Linked DNA regions of Homo sapiens: all the other regions are linked to region 3. Evidence: promoter capture Hi-C in human tissues and cell types (Jung and others, 2019). All regions are on one chromosome and are shown on one strand. The core of a region is centred on a gene start or on the middle of the fragment in contact, and the rest is flanking DNA. Distances in the headings are between cores, read along the strand shown.

Region 1 (3,335 bases), core at 745-3,244, 340 kb after region 3:
ATTCTTGCCAGCAGGGGGTGCTCCCTCCTGCGGCTCTTCCCAAGTGGGACCACCCCATTGCTCCCTTCCCCACCCCGGCAGCCCTGAGTGCCCTCTGAGCTCCTGCACTGCTGCCTCAATCCTGGAAGCCGCGCTTCTGTCAATGAGATTCAGTGATCCCTTCTTTCATTTGACAAGCATTTACTGGGTGCCCCTGATCTAGGGACGGTGCAAAGTGTGGAGGACACAAAGAGAAGCAGAAGCTAAAACAGGCAGACAGACACGTAAACCACCCGTTAAAGGCACGGCGCCAGGGCCCAGAACAGATCACTGCCCGCCGAGGGGGCAGGGAGGAAGCAAAGTGGGTGGGAGCCTAGAGGGGAGGCCTTCCACCCAGAGACCATCCCTCTCTAAGGTGGCAGCGTGCCCAGCACACAGCAGGCTCCAAAGGCCCTCCAACGCAGAGTCCTAAACACGGGGGGAGACAAGTATGTGGAGATATATTTATGCAAGAAGACAGGAGCTGGAATCTCCGAGTCAGCCTGAAGAGTGCAGTGTGGAACTGACCTAAGGCATCATGCGGGACTGAGAATCTGGGAGTGGTGGTTTCCCAATACCTAACTCCATGGCTCCACCATGGGGGTCTCTAACTCTTCACATCCAATTCTGAAATGCTTTGGCTTAGAGGACTGTCTTCTTGATTTACACTAAATATAAAACCCTATTTTTCTTTTGTATGATTTACAGAAAATAATAAGGAAGGGGGTAGTATTATGACCACGCCCATCTCAGTGACGGGGTCACCACTCTAGAGGCAGGAGAAGTTAACGTTCTCAGGTGTAAGCATTTCGGTCAATCATCTGAAGCACAACTTCCGGTACCTTCTTCATCGTAGTTAGACATATCATCCGCAATCATGTTTCCAAAGTCCAGCAGGAGGTTCCAGGTGTCCCTTGGAATTGATCTTTTGTGATGTTCCTAATATATGAGAGAAAAAAAAAACCCACCAGGTTTAAAATACAGAGCTTAACTCTCATATATTCTAGTGGCCTAGCGATCTTCAATTAATGTTCATTAATTTGATTAGGAACAAGTACAATAAAATTGTTAAAAGTAATAGCGTTCTGTATAAATGTTAAGTGCTACAACAACGCTAATGTCCAAATATAGAAAGCAGATTTATTTAAGAACAAAACATTTTAAATATTACAATTATAAACTCCTGTTTTGTCACATAGAAGGGCAGCATTTTAATCTCGTTACCTGCCCATTAGCTGCATGTATATATATATTCACGAACAGCTCATAAGCTTGTCTTACATTTTAAAACATTAACTGCTATCAAATTACACATAGTTTTCTGCAACTTGTTTTTTTCCCACTCAGCATAATGTCTGAAACGTATGCGGGCTGACGTGTGTGAATGTGCGTTCCTTTGCGTGGCTCCAAAGCCGTGCTCCATCGCACCAATATTCTGATTTTTTAGTCCGTTCTCCTGTGGATGGTCACTGGCTTTTCCAGTATTCTGCCGTTACAATGACACTGTGAGCGCCTTCATCCCCTTCTCCACGCACAAGAGCGTGAGGTTCTCTGGGAAACATCTGTGACTTAGGTTTGACCCCAGGTAAGGCGTAAGGGGGCTGTGGGCACAGCATTACTGACCTCTGGATATTTCGAGAGAAGTAATACAGCACATGATGTAATGAAACACATAGCTGCAAAGACGTCTCTCCATGGCAAACCCACAGGACTGAGTGACGTCACCTTCCACAGACAGCTCCGCCCTCCACCTGCCACACTCTCTGGGTACCATTCCCAGGCAAGGAAGCGGAAGTGACGTGCCCAAGGCCACAGGACTCTAAGTGGCAAAGTCTGTGTCACCTGGTGTCAGGTGAAGGGAGGCAGTGCGGGTCCTGGCCCGGCCGTGGGTTGGGCGGTGGAAGACCACTTCTTTCACTTTCATGGACAGAACAGCAAGAGGTCTGGGCATCTCTGCCATTACCGGGCTTGTGGCCACTCACTTCCAAAAACCCACAGCTGCACCTGCTGCCAGCAAGACGGGCTGGCATGACGCAGCCTTGCCCCGCACCAGCAAAGTGTCTCTCCAGAGGGTCCACAAAGGCCTCTTTTCCTCCTGAGCATGGTGAGACACACTTAGAAATGGCTTCAGACCACAGACACACACAGAGGCTGGGCACCGCCACATACAATCCGCAGTTCCGGAGCCCAAACCAGTCCACAGAAGTGTGGCGCTGGCACCATGTCGAGGATTCGGAGTTCTCAGTGGAAAGACAGAATTACCGTCTAGGTCCTCAGAGGAGACAACACGGGGGCTGCTGGGGTTGCAGAGTCTCCAGGAACCCCAGCCTGAGAGGAGCTTCCCGTGACTGCCAAGAAGCCACGTTCTGAGGAGGCCCCGGAGTGGCCCCAGCTCAGCCCTGCAGTCTCCGGCAAGGTGACAGAGCCAAGTGGCAACCTGTCTGGACCTGCGGATCTTTGTGTGGGATGTTCATCTGCTGAAAACCTCCACGTGTGAGACCTGAGGTGGATGATTACATGCAGCCTCATACCTACCGACTTCCCTCCACAGTGGGCACACAGCGAGATGCAGGAGGACACTTACCATTAAGAATGTGTTCCAGAGATCTAAAAATTTAAACCTTCCAGATAACACTAATTTCCAATACGCAACAGCCATTTCTAAGTCTGGTAAAAAGAAAGAAAGAGCAGTTAGTAAATCTCACTCTCTTTTTCTACTGCACAAAAAACGACCACTTCTTAGCATGTCAATATTTACTTAATAAAATGTGGCAATCTCACCCAAGAGTCATGAGGCTTAATCTCTACGGAAGTGCTCCTGAGAACTGTACGTAGTCTAATTTTATAAATCTGGGGAAACTCTTTTTAAAAGGATTTGTATATTAAGTTATTTGGATATGCACACAATTCCCCCCTAATTAATCAGTTTTGGAGACTTGCCTTTTCACACATATTGGGTGTTCTTTAAACCTGACCTGATCTGGATACTATTAATGCGTATCATTTGTTTTTAAAAATAGGCCACTGGCCTGAGTGTCGAACTGCAAATCAAAGGACCAGTTTAGGAAGGAAGGGACACACTGTTCTCCAAATAGACCTGCCTTGTTGCTATATGAACTAAGACAGAATCTGTTTCACAAGTAATTACAGCGGCCTTATGAGGGCTCCAATTTGTCCCTAAAGTGTCAAGTCAAATCGGCAGCTAGCAGGGAAAGCGTTCTCACTGATGCATCTACACAGGACACTGCGTATCAATCAAAGCCAACGCCCTCTTTTCCCACACGGGAAGGTGGTGATTATTTCACGACTTCTATATA
Region 2 (3,734 bases), core at 52-2,551, 280 kb after region 3:
CCTGTTTCTTCTGTAGTTTGCTGACTTAAGCCGATTCAAGGCACTTTGTCTTGGAAACGGACCACTGTAGACACTGTTGCCTTCACTCCCCGCTTGGCCTCCTTTGTTCTTCTAGGAGAAGATGCCTCGGCACTTTCACGAGTTTGGGGTGTGCACAGATGGGGCTTCTAGTAGGCTCCTGTGCCTTCGAGTGGCTTCCCAGACACCGCCTGGGGTTGTGGACCTGAGCCAGGCCAGTCCTCTCGCTGTCAGAGAAACGGCGTGCACTGCTCAGCTGCTCAGTCCTGGGCTTTGGGGGCTACGTGACATCCATTCCTGTCAAAAATCCATGGCGGCCATAAAGATTCAGCAAATGCACCGACGCTCAAACAGACAAATGTCCCGGCACTTCCTTTTGTGGTTGGGGCTTTTTCTTCTGTTCAGGGAAACATTTGTCTACCCCAAGCTTATAACAATATCCCAAGAATGGGGTTTGATCAGACTTCTATGTACACCAGTCTCACAGACGCCCTCAATAAGTGCTTTTAAAAGTTCTAGCCGGTCGCAGAGGCTCACGCCTGTAATCCCAGCACTTTGGGAGGCCGAGGCAGGCGGATCACGAGGTCAGGAGATCGAGACCATCCTGGATAACGTGGTGAAACCCTGTCTCTACTAAAAATACAAAAAATTAGCCGGGCGTCTTGGCGGGCGCCTGTAGTCCCAGCTACTGAGGAGGCTGAGGCAGGACAGTGGCGTGAACCCGGGAGGCAGAGCTTGCAGTGAGCCGAGATCACGCCACTGCACTCCAGCCTGGGTGGCAGAGCGAGACTCCGTCTCAAAATAAATAAATGAAATAAAATAAAATAAAAGTTCTAATGAAAGCCTGTGTCATAGCTTAATTGACAGGGGTTTTCTTTCAGGACAAGAGGTGCCTGCACCATCCCAAAGCCTCGGCTGCCGGGCCAGTGCTCTCAGACACGAGGCATCAGCTCGTTTCAGTGGAACAAGCTTTCCTCCTCACAAGATGCCAAGAACCCGCGCCACCCACGGGCACAGCAGGGGTTTGGAATGCAGGCATTCCCAGCTAGGTCTGGCGTGAGCTTAAACCACCCGTTGTTAAATCCTCATGAAAAGTCACTTACAAAGTTCTCCTGCATACAGAGTAGTGGAGGGCAGAGGGTGTCTCACAGGCCTGCTGGGCCCGTTGCACCCATACTCCTTCCCTCCCTTCTGTCCAGTCTCCCTCCGTGTCCCAGAGGACACCCCAGCCCTTTGGCCCCCCGCGGCCCAGGTGCAGTGGCCGAAGTCCAGCTCCCTGGGTCTTGCTCCGAGGCCGGCACAGTCTTGACTGGACCAAGAGAGGGTCTGGGGAGTGCATGGCCTTGTCTCTCTAAGCACATCCTAAGGAGTTCTCCTCCCACTTGGGGCCTTGCCCCAGACCCTCCCTCCTGCCCAGGATCACTGCTCCAGGCTGGCCACATTCACCCGATGGGGGCTCTGCCCCTCGCCCCAGGCCTGAGTCCTACTTCATTTATGCGGCTGCTTCAACAATGCAAGGAAGAGATTTGTAATGGGAAAGGTATTTTATTTCTTTTTGAAATTATTTCCAGCTGAATGATGTTAGTAAAAATACAGAGAGAATACAACAAATGACATTTAGTAATTTTTTCTGACTAACCCATTTTAGGGTTGTTTATATACAAAGAAGAATATGAACAAGAACAAATTTAATAAATAGCTGTAGCCTAATACACAACCGAAAGACCGTAACTCCAACAGCAGAGATACCCTGAGAACAGAATAAGGAGGTGGTGCTGAGCGTGTAAAATCCCAGACAACGACCCTCCCTGAGCGAGTGTCCTGAACATGACCACATTCTCGTCGCCGTCTCGGGACCTTCCTGCCGCCTGAGTGCACCGCCTCCCGCCCGGCTGTTGTCACTTGCACCCACAGACCTGCGGCTCACAGTGGGCCTGTCGACAGCCGGAGGCACCGTAAAAAACTGCAGGGAGGAGGCAGTCAACGAGTCGCTCAACTACACAAAATTAATGATGTTAACTAAGAAGCTAAAATAAATATCCTGTTTTCTTTTCTTTTCTTTTCTTCTTTTTTTTTTTTTTTTTGACGGAGTCTCGCTCTGTCACCCAGGCTGGAGTGCAGTGGCGCAATCTCGGCTCACTGCAAGCTCCACCTCCCGGGTTCACGCCATTCTCCTGTCTCAGGCTCCCGAGTAGCTGGGACTACAGGCACCCACCACCACGCCCGGCTAATTTTTGTATTTTTAGTAGAGACAGGGTTTCACTGTGTTAGCCAGGATGGTCTTGATCTCCTGACCTCGTGATCTGTCTGCCTCGGCCTCCCAAAGTGCTGGGATTACAGGCATGAGCCACCGTGCCCGGCCACTTTCTTTCTTTCTTTTTTTTTTTTTTTAAAAAAACAAAACAACTTTGGGTTTTATTTAAAATGCCCGTGGAGGTGGTTAGCGCCCCATTCTTCTGCTGTAGTTATTTCACCCCGGGAGGGTGTGGGCCTTAGCCATGTGGCCGTGATGGTCGTATCTGAAGTGTGAATACTTCCCCGCGCTATCTTCTAACCTGCGCTGTCTCAGCTTAGTGTGAACGTACGGACCGTTCTCAAATCCTGGTGAAGTCACTGGCAGTTTTTTCCTGCACACAGAGTAGCTGTGCTGTTTTTGAGCTGAGGGCAGTGTCATGCTGGGCTGCATCTGGCACATGGAGAGGACGGGCCAGTCGAGCAGGTGGCCTCCTGGCCGCTCACAGACTCTGCGCCCGCCAGACTGTGAGAGGGGTTCAGGCACGACACTTCCGGAGCTGTCATCTGGAGGAGATTCTCATCATTTTTTCCACCACTTAAAATAAAACCACTCAATGCCTTCTCCAGTGTACTCTCTGGTCTATTTAAAAATAGCAGCGCAAGTCCCACCACTTCTTATTTATAAAGGGAACAGCCAGTGAACATATTTTTACCTCCCGTGTCTGTCATCATGTTCTTGCCACTCATTGCCTCCAATTCCAAATAGGTAAAGAGTGAGGGCCGTGCCGCTGTGCCTGGAGTGGCAGGGGCAGCCACACAGACCTGGGGGTCCCTGAGCTCCCCCAGCTCCAGGGAGGACGCCCCAGGCATGAGCAGGGGCCGCCAACAGGACAAAGAGGCCACTCTGTCAGCCTCTGCTGGACCCCTGAGCTCCCCTCTCATGGGCCTCTCCGTTTGGGTGGCTCCGAGAGGCCAACTCCAGCCCCAACTGCAGGCTCCCAGGACTGCAGGGGCAGGGACTCTGGAGGTCCGTGTGCTTCGTGAGAGAGGGGACCCTGTCCTCCTAGCAGGGGTCCAGCGGCACCACAGCAAGACTTCTGTGGCCAAGTACACGCCATGCTCAGCTCTGCCCCCACCCGCACCCCCGGACCATCCTGTGTGCAGCTGGGCTGCCCCGGGACCCACACGCGCGAGGGGCACCCGGTGCTCAGGAGCCTCCACACACAGCAGCTCGCACTTAGAACCCACACGCCAAGCAGAAACCCCTCGAAGCGGGCTGGGAGCACGGACCCCTGATTTATAGAGGAGGCCCCGGGGGCCCTGTCGGGGGAGCTGTGGGGACCGGCCCCCCAGAGCTCAGCACAGCCCGGCCCTCCTTCCAGACACCAGCACTCGCATGTCCCAGCAGGTGAGGGTGGGTCAAACCTGCTGGATCTGAAGTTAATTGTTCGACTGGAAGGAAACCTGTGCGCTCCCCGGAG
Region 3 (3,668 bases), core at 22-2,521:
CAGCATTGATGACAAAGACTGCGTGTCTGCCATGAGCATCCTGCTGTTGGTGCACACACCGCATTGGTCTCTCCATACAAACATGCCTAGAGGCGATGTCAGAGGGTGGAGACCAGGAGAGGCAGGAGTCAGACATCTGGTGCCACCAGGAAGGCCCTTCTCAGAGGACCAGGCTGTGCGTGGTGCCCGCCGTGGGAGGCCAGCCTGGCGTTGGCATCCAGCATCATCAGTTTGTGCAGTCGGGTGGGGCTCAGTGAGTGCCTCCTGTGTGCCAGGCACAATGACGCACAATGTGTGCACACCAGGCTCATGTGCAGGTGGCTGCGAGACAGGGCGACCCATCAAGGCAGATGCACCATGAGGCAGTGGCCAGTGCTGTGGGTGTTAGGGGCATTGCTCCCCGGCCACTACGGCATAGCAGGCAGTGATCGCCACACTGGCCAAGCTTTAGACCATTTATTCCAGAGACCCCAGAGGCAAAAAGCCCGGCTGCACCTCCCAGTGACTCCCACAGCCATTGAGCAGAGACACTCAGGACCTTGTGATGGGAGGTTTCTGCACTGGAGAACGAGCCCAGAAGCCCTCTCAGCCTCGGAACAGTGTGGCCAGTGGTGGGCAGGTCAGGAGGGGCTTCAGACACAGCCTGTCCCTCCAGATGGTCACGGGAAGGTCACTCCCCACAGAAGTACGTTTTGGGGCCATGCGGGCACAGAAGGTTTGGGGGTGGGTGGGGCAGGTGCCAGCCTGGCCTGTGGGAGGCCATGGTGCAGATGCCAAGCCCCCCCCGTGACATGAGACCACCTGATACCACCCAGAGAGTGGCTGTGAGCGGAAGGGCCCGCCCAGAAACAAGCAGGGCCTTGGGGCAGAAGTCCTGGGCTCAGATCCCACGCTCACTGCCAGCGGCCTCGGCTCAGGCTTCTGCGCTCTCTAAACTTAGTTTTCTCTTCTGGAAAAATGATGGGGAAAATGATATTTGTATGTGAGGACTGAGAGTTAAATGTAAACATCTGGAAACTACAAAATGAGCACGAAATGATGTTTTTATTCTTAGAACAGAAAGTCCCCACACCCGCGGCCCTGGTGACTGATGAGGATGAGGTTCTGCGGGGCCTCTCTGGCCGCCCAGCTCTGCCTGGGGAAGGTGGGGCCAGAGTGGATGTGTTCCCAGCGTGGTCACTCCCCTGCCTCGCCAGCAGGTCTCGGCTCCAATCAGGAGGCCTAAGCCAAGTGATAAGCAGCCAGACAACAGCCATCCCAGCTGGGGCGTGGACTTTGCTCCAGCAGCCTGTCCCAGTGAGGACAGGGACACAGTACTCGGCCACACCATGGGGCGCCCACTGCACCTCGTCCTGCTCAGTGCCTCCCTGGCTGGCCTCCTGCTGCTCGGGGAAAGTCGTAAGTGCCCCTCGCCCTTCAGACCCAAAAGCAGCGCCAGGGAGCAGGGAGGGGCGGCAGTTGGGGAAACCCTCTCATCTCTGCAGCCTGGACGGTGGGTGCCTTGAGTGCTGCCAGAGGCTGGGCTCGGATGGCTGGGCTTGGCCTTTCCAGCCAACGGCATCCTCAAGGCCAGCTGTGGCTCCCTGGGGCTGAGAGTCAGACGGGCGGATCAGAGGTCACAGAGACAAAAACACAAGGACAGAGTCAGAGAGAGAAAGGGAGAGGGAAGGAGAAACGGAGACACAGTGAGATGGGAGGCCAAGAGGCAGAGACAGAGGTAGAAAGACGGAGACAGAGAGAGAGGGAGGGGTTGGGGCAGGCAGAGACAGGACAGTTAGCCATCTGCCACCACAGGGAGGCACAGGACGAGGGGCACAGCAGAGGAGCTCCCAGGGAGGAGGAGGCTGAGCCGAGCCAGTGCCACCACTCTCGGACTGGCTCCGTCGGGGAAGGAGCTGCCTAATGCACAGCTGGACAGGTGGGGGCAGCAGGGCTGTCCAGGACCCCCGGGTCTGTCCAAAAGCAGAGGCCCAGACAGGACAGAAGCCAGGCAAGCCTGGGGACAGCGGAGGAAGAGGAGGCCCCTCTGGTGGGGACACGAGAGACAGGGACCCTAGACTTGTTTGCATCCTGGACAAAGTGGACAGGCAGGGGCACCAAGGGGACCCAGGCCTGGGAAGGGAATGTGTGAGGGAGAGACGGAGCAGGGGGAGACCCTCGTGGGGTGGAAAGGGGAGACCCCTGGGAAGGCTGAGTGGATCCTCAGTGCATCACTGACCTAAACGGCCCCTCCGCCTGGTGACTTGGAGCTCCAGTCACATCACACGGGGGTCTTCTCCATCCCACCCTCAACCCCCTGCCCTCCCCAGCCTCTGTCCCCTGAGCCACATCTTCCTGTCTCCCACGCGGAACGGGACTCCCGTCTTCATGGGGTACTGTGTGGCTCCAACTCGCCCAGCCTTCTTCCTCCCCCTCAGGCCACACTGCCCCCTGCAGGAGCCCACTGTGATGCTTGTGGTGGGATGAGATCAGCGTGGGTGGAACAAGGCCCTGGAAGGACCCATGCCATCATCATCGACAGCAAAGCTACTCTGCAAACAGACAGATGCTTCCGCGAATTGGTAGAAAATTCTGCAGCCGGAATGCTCTAGGATCCTGAGGCCCTAAGCCCGGCCCGGGGCTCCCGAGGCCCTAAGCCCGGCCCGGGACTCTGGAAGCTGCTCTGGCTTATTGGGAATGGAAGTTGGCAGGACTCCTCTTCCTGGGAAGAAGCAGAGGGTGGGGATGAGAAGACAGGCCAGGAGCCCACCCAGACCCACAGGAGGAAACTAGGGGAGTTATGCAGAGTCCTGGTGGAGCGCCAGCTTCCCTTCCTGCCAATGGGAAATGCAGGCGCCCACCTCGCGGACCTCTGGGTCCACAGGGTATTGGCACCCTTAGCTGTGTGATGCGGGCCTGGCTCATAACCATGGCCTGTGGTGTCCCCGGGGGCCGGCCTGGACCCTGGGTGGACATGGCCAGCCCCGGAGAGCCAGGGCCAGGCCATCTCTCTCCCCTACTCTGCCTCAGAGGCCTCGGCAGCTGCACTGTGGGGTGGGTGGGGCTGAACACAGGTCCCAGAAGGTCCCACTCAGGACCCTGCTGTGCACACTTTTGATTTTAATAAAATCAGAATGCGCACAGCATCTGCAGTCTAGCCTTTAAACGAGCACAGCTGTCCTGGCAGTCACGGAAGTTCTTCTGGGGCGGTGGGACCTCAGCATTCCTTTGCTGGTACTGCTACAAGAAAGGACAATGGACCAAGTAGCTTAAAGCAACAGAAACATTTCTCCCACAGCTCTGGAGGCTGGAAGTTCAAAATCAAGGCGTCAGCGGGGCTGGTTCCTCCAGAGGCTGGGAGAGAGTCTGCTCTAGGCCTGTTTCCTGGCCTCGGGGTGCCAGCGGCCTCACAGCCCATGGCTTGTGGGAGCATTGCTCCCATCGCTGCCTCCATCATCGCATGGGGTTCTCACCATGGCTGTTTTTCTGTCTTCTTTTCTCTCAGAAGGACACCAGTCATTGGATTTAGGGCTCACTCTACTCCCATAAAATGTCTTCCTAACTAAATACATCACAAAAGTTCTATTTCCAATTAAGGTCAGGTTCTGAGGTTCTGGGAAAGACATGAATTTGGAGGGACATTATTCAGCCCTGTCCTGCCACCTGTGAGTGTTTTCTGCAATCCAACT
Region 4 (3,606 bases), core at 950-3,449, 360 kb after region 3:
TTTGAATCCTAGCATTCGATTATACTACATAGTTCTAGCAAGCGTGTTTCCAATACATCAATCAATAGGCTGCAGTTTTCTACTACACATGAAAGAAATAGTGAGCAACTAATAATTTATCCAGAAAACGGTCCTATTTTTAAAATCTAGGTTTCTGGGTTTTAGGGAAAAAAAAAAATCACTGAATTTTTTTTGAGAAGATCTGTTCACTAAGAAAAACTTAATTTCCCTAAAGTGAAATAAAAATTTAAGTTTACAGAAATTTAGCTCACCCAAAGGCAAACTGCTATAAAATATACTGTATTGATAAAGTATTTACAATATCTTGAGTTTTTATCACAACTCTGCCAAAGTAAATGAATGATTGATGTTTTTCTTAAGTGATTTCATTTGCTAATTCTAATGGTACTGGACAATAACTACTTCTCAGAATCATTTAGCTTATGTATCCACATTTAATAGCTTAGAAATTCAGGTTCCCCACCCCCTATTTCTAGTTTAGAAATAAAATTAAAGAACTTAGCATTTGTTTATCAGAAAATCAAACAGTAAAATATATTTAAGGCATCCCAGCAAGACTTCACTAAAGCTAGTAATTTCAGACAGATTATATCATATTATCATAATGCGTAGGTAAATTGTTGGTTTAGAAGGTAAAAGTAGAAAACCTGTAGCTTCTCTGCTCAAAGAAAGATTAGGTATGATAAACTTTTCTTCCCCTTCACACAAAATTTAACTTTGGTCATTTAAGTAGTATACTACCACATATATATAGTTACCAAAGAAAAATTGGTGGCTGGGCACGGTGGCTCACGCCTATAATCCCAGCACTTTGGGAGGCCGAGGCGGGTGGATCACCTGAGCTCAGGAGTTCAAGACCAGCCTGGCCAACATGGCGAAACCCCGTCTCTACTAAAAATACAAAAATTAACTGGGCGGGGTGGCTCACGCCTATAGTCCCAGCTACTCGGGGGGCTGAGGCAGGAGAATCGCTTGAACCCAGGAGGTGGAGGTTGCAGTGAGCCAAGATCATGCCATTGCACTCCAGCCTGGGTGACAAAAAAAAAAAAAAAGAAAAATTGGTAACAAAATGAAGAAAGCCATAAACATCCTTCTAACTCTATTCTCTTATATCAGGGAGAAAACAACCTCAGCATAGTTTATGGGACAGAGGTTCTGTAAAAAAAATCCCCACTTATCACCTTATTCAATTCCATCTCCTAATTCTATACTTCATGAATAGAAATATTGATCTACAATGCTCTGAGCTAATAAACCATCTCAGTAAATTTCATTACAACCGTGTTCAACATTTCAAGTAATTTTGCAAGTACTTGTTCATTTGTATATGTTAATGTCATAACCAATGTTATATTTGTCAACAGTCTTAGAACTACGTTTATTTTTAGAGCCTAAAGTGATTGTACCACGTTTCTACTTTAACTGAGTATAATTGCATGAATAAAGTTAAATAATAATGAAGGGATGAAGCTTCAATAACACCCAAAGACACAATTTTCCACTTATACACAAGTATTTTTTCAAAGGCTGCTGTATATATTTAAATAACTTTTAAAAATCTGCATAAAAATCAGCATATGACTTACAAAATTAGCTCAACAATTAACTTAGCCAAAAATTTTTAAAGTAGACTAAAGCTTAACTAAGAACAATTTTCATTCTTTGGGAACTACAATAAGTACAAACCTGGTTTGTTTTACCACTGACTATGTTTCTGAGCCAAGATTTTTTAAAGCAATTTTCAACTCACTTTTCAGACCTAAAAAGAAAGACTAAAGCACACACACAGTATTTTAAAAAGTAAAAAACGAAAGTAATAAATAAACAAGAACTTGGCTGGGTGCGGTGCCTCATGCCTGTAATCCCAGCACTTTGGGAGGCCGAGGCGGGTGGATCATGAGGTCAAGAGATTGAGACCATCCTGGCCAACATGGTGAAACCCCGTCTCTACTAAAAATACAAAAATTAGCTGGGCGTGGTGGCATGCACCTGTAGTCCCAGCTACTTTGGAGGCTGAGGCAGGAGAATCGCTTGAATGTGGGAGGCAGAGGATGCAGTGAGCCGAGATCATACCACTGCACTCCAGCCTGGTGACAGAGCAAGACTCCGTCACATAAACACACACACACACAGACAACAATAAACAAACAAACAAGAACTTAAAGCCAAGGAAATTATTGTATATTTGGGCTAACACTTGTTTAAATGAGAGTCAGGGCTTGGTTTTGTTTTAAAGTTTTAGAAAACTTAGCCTTAAAAACTGCTAGAAAGAAAAAGCAAAATAAGTCAGCTCTTAGACTGCTGCCTGTCCCTCTGCATTGGACATGAAATTTAAAGCCTGCAGAGGGGCGTGGATCTGCGTATGCTCATCACGGCAGTCTCAGTTCAAGGCACATTTTGACAAGAAGCATTTTGACAAGAAGCTCCGATCCAAGCACTGATGTCAATAAAAATCACAATCTGCAACAAAAAGTTTCTTTGCTGCGAGCTTTTCCCAAAGCCTCTCTAATCACTGAAGCTATTTCAGGGCTGACACGCCACTACCCGGGCAAGGAAAACACTAAGGTTTACCCTCACTTCAGATCATCTTCATGATTTGCTGTTGTTCTTAACCTTCTCATCATCAATATTTCAGCCTAAATAGAAGTGCTTGAAAAAAATACTGTATTAACAGACACAGTCACGCCAAGACACCAAGCCTCCCAGCAGCAGCTTTTCCCTGACAGGCTGTGCAGCGTCAGACTCACCGCACAGAACAAGCGGGCACGGGCCTGGCCCTGCCCCATCGCTGACTCCACTCTTCTCGCCCTCCCCACCCCCACCAATCACAGTCCCAGCCCCATTTACACAGAAGCAAGTGGATTCTGCAGCTGAGCGCCGAGCGCTGAGCGTGGGGAGGAGAAGCAACGGCAGCCCGGAGACCTGCCCCGGCACCAGAACCCTGGAAGTGCAGCGCGCAGGCCGCTCGCGGAGGCCGACATCCGTCCGGCTTTGCTGCAGTCTCCTCTTACCTTTGTACCTGCCGTACAGCCGCTCCAGCTTCTTCTTGTCCACAGCGTTCCGCATGGACTCCCTGTGGAGCGAGTCTGGGTTTTGGAAGAAGCTGTCCGTGGCCTCGTCTAGTCTCCACTCATTCTGCGTTAAGCAGTAGATAGCAGTTCTCTCGCCAGCCTGAGTGCACGCCATAAACTGGCGGACCTTGTCCTTCTGAGACGATTTAAGCTTATGCTTTGGGATGCAAAAGAAGTAGGAAAGCCAATGAAGCCGCTCCAGGTTTGTCCCAGCTTTAGCCTAACGCCTGCACTTTAACTGGGCAGAATTAGAGACAAAGCCTTGCTCTTCATCAGTTACAAAGACTGCACAGTCTTCTGAAAATGGAAACAACAGCATCTATACTGTAACAAACAGGCAGTCTAAGCTTCAAAAATTATGAGAATTAACATTTTATACAAAATACATTCTGATCTCTATCCAGTTCACTCTGCATGAAGTGTGACTATCATTTTTCTCTAAAACTCTCAGTAACTCTGTAATGCACATCTAGCCTCTGAGGACACAGGGCAAGGACCTTACGGCACCAGCGGG

The links. The method cuts DNA at HindIII sites, captures the fragments that hold promoters and counts their contacts. A contact is called where the count stands out against the background at its distance.
Region 1: a fragment that was not itself captured here is called in contact with the fragment with the promoter of F10 in region 3 in 2 of the 25 tissues and cell types used here (IMR-90 fibroblasts and dorsolateral prefrontal cortex).
Region 2: a contact is called between a fragment that was not itself captured here and the fragment with the promoter of F10 in region 3, in 2 of the 25 tissues and cell types used here (dorsolateral prefrontal cortex and lymphoblastoid cells).
Region 4: a fragment that was not itself captured here is called in contact with the fragment with the promoter of F10 in region 3 in 2 of the 25 tissues and cell types used here (liver and mesenchymal stem cells).

Annotation. Positions count from the first base shown.
Region 1 is chr13:113,458,452-113,461,786 of GRCh38, forward strand. It overlaps DCUN1D2 (defective in cullin neddylation 1 domain containing 2), which reads right to left. Exons shown (of 7, transcript NM_001014283.2): 5 at 2,603-2,685; 6 at 861-957. Among named protein-coding and RNA genes, the nearest start is that of ADPRHL1, 6.6 kb to the left of the region's middle. The HindIII fragment of the contact is 3,864 bases long and covers 63-3,335 here.
Region 2 is chr13:113,398,064-113,401,797 of GRCh38, forward strand. It overlaps ADPRHL1 (ADP-ribosylhydrolase like 1), which reads right to left. Exons shown (of 8, transcript NM_001394807.1): 8 at 1,548-3,734. Among named protein-coding and RNA genes, the nearest start is that of GRTP1, 36 kb to the left of the region's middle. RefSeq lists a silencer at 1-265. The HindIII fragment of the contact is 6,890 bases long and covers 1-3,734 here.
Region 3 is chr13:113,121,528-113,125,195 of GRCh38, forward strand. It overlaps F10 (coagulation factor X), which reads left to right and starts at 1,272. Exons shown (of 8, transcript NM_000504.4): 1 at 1,272-1,398. The coding sequence starts at 1,329. The HindIII fragment of the contact is 14,274 bases long and covers 1-3,668 here.
Region 4 is chr13:113,480,808-113,484,413 of GRCh38, forward strand. DCUN1D2 (defective in cullin neddylation 1 domain containing 2) reads right to left here. Exons shown (of 7, transcript NM_001014283.2): 2 at 3,033-3,249. Among named protein-coding and RNA genes, the nearest start is that of DCUN1D2, 8.1 kb to the right of the region's middle. The HindIII fragment of the contact is 3,664 bases long and covers 368-3,606 here.